2 separate regions of the Homo sapiens genome follow, and region 1 is linked to region 2. Evidence: promoter capture Hi-C in 16 types of primary human blood cells and fetal thymus (Javierre and others, 2016). All regions are on one chromosome and are shown on one strand. The core of a region is centred on a gene start or on the middle of the fragment in contact, and the rest is flanking DNA. Distances in the headings are between cores, read along the strand shown. Region 1 overlaps LOC105375630 (a long non-coding RNA gene). Region 2 holds the start of CNGB3 (cyclic nucleotide gated channel subunit beta 3).

Region 1 (2,746 bases), core at 120-2,619, 1.6 Mb after region 2:
TAATCGGATCGCTGGGTCAAATGGTATTTCTGGTTCTATATCCTTGAGGAATTACCACACTGTCTTCCAAATGGTTGAACTAATTTACACTCCCACCAACAGTGTAAAAGCGTTTCTATTGCTTCGCATCCTTGCCAGCATCTGTTTTTTTCCCAGACTTTTTAATGATTGCCATTCTATTCTACTTCTTATGATTCTTTTAAGAATTACATAATGGGTGTATAGGATGAGAAATTTTTTTCATTTCCTGTCATTCTTTTCTCTCTTTTTTTCACCCTCATGGAAAAGGAGTTTTTGGTAGGACATTAGGGAGAAGCTTTCAGCATAGTAATGCATCAAAAAATAGTTACTATTAACTACATAAACATGAGGAACTTGTCTTGCTCTGGGGAGAGGACTTTGGCATTCCAAGCTTCTTTCCCCTTTGCTTATCCAACTCTATTTGTTTCCTTCCAGAAAGGATGCAGGAATATATCTAGGGTTGAGCAAGGGTAAAAAAATACAGAGAGCAGGAAAAGATTTAGGTGAACCTGCAGTAATGAATAGAGATTGAGACAATAAAACAGATTCTCGGGTACCCTTTCAAACAGGATTCTATGGACAGAAAAGTGATTTGATAACAACAGCAAGGAAATATTTTACACCACATTTTGGATGCAGTATGTGCTCATAATCAGTGGTTAAATAATATCCATTTTATTTTTAACAATGACCAGCATATTTGCACAGTTTTCCAGGCATTGTGAACCCACTGAAGAGTGAGATATACATAATATATTGCCATTATTTCCCATTCACTTCTTTCATATGTCAAGTTTTAAATGCATTTATGTGGTCCTCTTAAAGGAGATAATGCTTGAAAAGTTTTCTGAGAGTACCCAAACATTGATATTGCTTAATAAACGTGAATGATTATCACTGTCATTAAATTTTAGGATAATACCCTCACTTTTAAAGATATGACTGTAGCAGTTAGAGAAAACTTCAATTAATCAGCCTCCAACTGAGTAGAATTTTCTTTTTAACCTACAATTCACACTTGCTGAAATAACATAATAATAGAAAAATATTTTACATTTTCTATTAGCAGAACCTGAAATTAAGGGAATCCGTGCTCTGGACATGATTCCATAGGAATTTAGAAATATATTCTATTATGTCCAACACCAAATCTAACACAAGGAAGCCTTCGGGTCAATCAGTCTTTCTTTCATGCAGTCAATAGCCTTTGTTAAACACCTTCTAAAGGCTGGGCATTATTCTAGAAACAGAGAAAGAGGGAAAGACAAAATGAACAAAAGCACTTGACACCATGAAGCTAAGTATGGAGACGACAGATCTTAACAAATGAGTACAGATCATTAATGAAGTACCTGCAAATAGGAAAATGCCTCAAAGGTAAAAGAGGCTTGGAAACCACAAGCCATCAATAAGTTACTCAGCAGATTACTACAAGCCACTGTATCTCAAAAAATGTGTGTGGTGATTCTTTGCCAAAATCAGCAGTTTTCTCTCCAAATCATTGAATAAGCATCTTCTTCCCCAACTGTGACAGAATCTCCACTGATGAGGAAGCATTCTGATCCCTTTAGAATTGTAAAGCTCCTCAAGAGCAAATGGAACAGAGCTTAACCATCTTATCTACTACTCTCGCAAGCCTCAGTTTAGTTCCAGGCCTTTGCTTAACAGCTTCAAGTTTCCTTTGGCCTCCTTATTACCTGTTGTATCACCTTTGGATGACCAAATGACTCATGTTCTATTACTTTTCTGAATATGTAAGTCTAAATTTTACCATGATAATTCCCAGATTCCAACCTACCACTCAACCACCTCAAGGACTCAGCTTCATATAGGACAATTTGTTCCTATCAGTAATAAAATAGTTTTTAAAAAGATTCTTAGTGTCAATACTCATTTAATTATTTAAATTCTACAATTATGGTATTATTCCATAACAAAATCAATAGTATCTGGGGGAAAAACACCCAAGGCTCTAAAAAAACTAAGAAAGAGATGATTTTTAGTACAAGTATTGCCTAAAGCTGTAACTGGACTATATTTAAGAATACTTTTTAATATCAAATATTAAGATCAAAGTGTTTTTTCTGGTTTATCTACTATTTTCTCTGTCCCCTCAGATATTCAGCTAATCAAAGTTTTAATGTAGTAATGTGAAATTAATGTAGAGACTATGTTTCAAGTCATGAATTGGTTCCAGTAGATTTCAATGTAATAACTTAATCAGTTTTATTAAACTAATTTTAAAAAGAAGTTGGAAAATGTATGTGGTATAAGTAGAATCAGCATTAATTTACATGTGAGCTAGGAAAGCTTATATTGAGGATAGATAACAGATATTAATTAATAAATTTTAAAAACCTAATAGCTAAAAGTCATGTATTCTAAAGAGGTACTTTTTATCTTAGTGCTACAATCAATATTCAAAGTATGATGTTTTGGGAATCTAGATTTTAAAGAAATAAAAAGGAAAAATAAGCCACATAGCACTTATTGTATTTTATATAAGGCTTAAATAAAAATTAGAAAATTTAATTTAAAAATAAAGCATTCATTTTTTTCTGAACATTAAACATAATTAACACATAAAATATTTAAAAGAAAAAAATGTATATCTGCTAAATTAAAGGCAAAAGATTTTCCAACTTTTTCAACAGAAATATAAAATCACTAATGAATTCCACAAGCACATCAAAACAACATCACTGTCTGTTACAGACATTGGGAT
Region 2 (3,083 bases), core at 326-2,825:
GAGGATTAAATACAGTAGCCCTAGAAAAGGGCTTAGCACCTTGCTTGGCAAATAGTAATTGCTGTTAGTTACAATGTTCTCCAAGAGAATAATATATTAGCTATTAACGGTTTTTATGTGCTCCCTTGGAAAATAATCACAGTAGGCAAGGGTTAAAGATGGATGTAGTGACTTTCCCAGAGCAAAACACAGCAAGACTAGCTGAAGGAAAGTACCAGCTCAATATTTGTGACATTGTATGAGTTCTTAAACATATAGATAACTTAGTGTGGGATTATTTATTTTGACATAAGAATTAGAAAGAAGTCAAGGGCACTCTCTCGAAGCAATACTAACACAGTCCTCCTCATCTCCTCTCTACTGCAAAGCAGTCAACATTAATCAGAAAAGGAAGGCAGATTTTCCACGGCCCATGTTAAATAGTCTCAGTGTTGTCTATCCTCTAGGCTCATTTAAACCCGAACCATTGGACTATGCTCCCCTAGTCCCTGAGGAGCACTCCTGCTTGTACTTGTCATCTCTCATCCAGCTGTTTCAGATGGCAAAATAACTACTGCTCTAAAAATCTTCTGTAGCTCTTTTAGATAATTCTAGTGAGTAATTCACGAAAATTATTCTGTGGATAGTTCTAAGTAAATATTGCTCTTGTAATGATCACTTAGGACTTAAACCTGTCACAGAAACACAAATTCTTATTAATAATAATAATAGCCACTTGTAAAGTACCTACCATGTGCTTTATATATTACTGTCTCTAGTTCTCATAACAAAGCAGAAATTATCATATACATTTTGCAGAAAAATATATTTAGAACTTGTGAAAAGGCTTGTTTAAAGTTCCTCCACCTTGGCAGTATTAAAATTTTGTAGTGTATAATTCTACGTTGTGGAGGGCTGTCCTGTACATGATAGGATGTTGAGCAGCATCTGCAGACTTTACCCACTGGATGCCAGTAACATCCCCACCCCGGAGCTATGACAACTGAAAGTGTCCCCAGATTTGCCAAATGTCCCTTGAGTGGTAAAATCGCTCTCAATTGAGAGCCAATAGGTTTCCTATTGCTCTAGAGATTTATTGTTAACATGTGGTTTATGAAGACCAGGATACTTGATGTTCTTTGTTGAAACTCAATCAAGTAACCAATTTAATATTTGAGAAATGGTTTCATTTTGGATGATGGTAGAAGTGAAAATCAGCAATGAGAAGTCTTACTTGGCTTTTCCAAATCCTAGTATAGTCTCCTAAACATTTATTATTCTTTTTATGAACAAATACATACAGAATATATAAATTAATGAAGATAAGCCCGACACAGTACATGTACCAGATGGTGCCAGGTAAAACTACTAAACAATCATATATCGTAGCAGTGATTAAATGCTATTACCAGATAAGAAATGATGAAAATCAAGGCTTGCATAGGAATGTAGAGGACATACCTGTGCTGTGGTTTGCTGAGACTGATTACTTGGGTGAGAGCCTTCTTCATTCCGACGAGAACTTTGTTCATTCTCATTGTTCTCTCCTATAGGCTTCACCTTGTTGACTTTTGTCAGCGATTTAAACATCTTCTCTGAGGTGGTTCTGAAAACCCTCTGTATTTATGACTGTGCCTTAAGGTAGAGAAATGTACTTTGTTTTCCTTTTCTTTAGTAGACAAGCCAATTAGCTGTTTAATCAGGATTTTGTTCTGGTTAATTCCTACAGGCAACTCCTTAGCTAGTCAGGGCTTTGGCTTAAAAGCAGCAAAATACTTCTGCTTGGGTGATTTGCACTCTGTTTATGAACTTTAGGGAGTCAAAATGATCTTGTGAATAATTTAGAAGTAGAGGATTAAACACAGCTTCATAGTTGATTTGAATGGTTTAAATGTGATCACACAACACATTGTTTTCTTTCTTTTTTTTTCCTTCTAATTACCCACCTACTTATCTTTATCTGTCTAACTTTATGCAAAGTAATATGGAAATGATTAAAAAAAATCCATGAGGGCTTATGATATGAAGCAACTCATTCACTCCTCAAAATCCCCTTCTCTGGTCCTGCAATGTTAGGCCACTATTTTTAAGCTTTCTTTTTCTGTTCTTCTGGTGGTTGATTTCCACATGGCTAAACAAAAAAAAATCTGCTTATTCTACTCTGCCTCTGTGTGTGTGTGTGTCACTTTTGACCCCAAACCTGTGTGAGGCAAAGATACAAGACTAAGATTTGTTAAAGAGAACTTTTTTTTCCCCTTTGCCCGGAGCCCAGACAAAGTTGATGTTCTATGCTGTTGGATGAGATTTTTTAGTGCACCAAAGACGCATGATTTTTTTTAAAGGGGTTCTGTTTTTGTTTTTGTTTTTAATGAGAGCACTTATCTTCTGCAGTTTCAAATTAAAACCAAAGCCTTTATGCAACAAGGTACACACCCACACCCAGGGCAGCCTAAGTCAACCCATCAAATACTTCTTGCCCTCTGTATTTTTGCAATCTGGAAATTTCCTTGAGATACTAGTTATGTATTTTAAGATACGTTTATTACAGTTAATACAGAAAAAAGCCTTTAAGTATTTATGAAGAAAGCATTTTAATTTAGATTTCATATTACCAAAATCGCAGTTCCCTTATGGATTTTTAAAATAAATTAGAAGTTTTAATTTTAGATTCAACCATTTTATCAAAAATAAACTTACCTAATAAATAACGTAATTGAATACATGATTTGACTTATATGGCCTGGAAACACAAAGCTATTTATTTTTGTTAAAAAATGGTGGGGGGTGTTTTGGTTCCATTATTGCTTCAGAAATAATTCTGAATAGATTATCAAATATGTATAGGGCCATTTTAGGAACTTTTCAGATAATCCTGTAATCCTGTAATTGATTACATTTTGAACTTTGGGTATAAGCATAGAAGCTAAGCCAAAGGAAGGGAAGGTGTTAACAGCCAGCCTGTGACTAATTTTTTCCCTTCCTAAGACCTGCAGAGGAAAAAATGACCTCACCAGACTTTCGTATAAATCTCATAGTATTTATCAGTGGAAAGATACCAGGGAGTCCCTATTTATGAAACTTTTTTAGCAGGACATTTCTGGTCT

What was found. The method cuts DNA at HindIII sites, captures the fragments that hold promoters and counts their contacts. A CHiCAGO score of 5 or more calls a contact.
Region 1: a fragment that was not itself captured here is called in contact with the fragment with the promoter of CNGB3 in region 2 in 1 of 17 cell types (M1 macrophages); the score reaches 5.1 in M1 macrophages.

The regions. Positions count from the first base shown.
Region 1 is chr8:88,391,926-88,394,671 of GRCh38, forward strand. The region is part of intron 2 of LOC105375630 (a long non-coding RNA gene); the gene reads left to right. Among named protein-coding and RNA genes, the nearest start is that of MMP16, 66 kb to the left of the region's middle. The HindIII fragment of the contact is 1,919 bases long and covers 411-2,329 here.
Region 2 is chr8:86,742,059-86,745,141 of GRCh38, forward strand. CNGB3 (cyclic nucleotide gated channel subunit beta 3) reads right to left here and starts at 1,576. Exons shown (of 18, transcript NM_019098.5): 1 at 1,441-1,576. The coding sequence starts at 1,569. The HindIII fragment of the contact is 3,976 bases long and covers 1-2,068 here.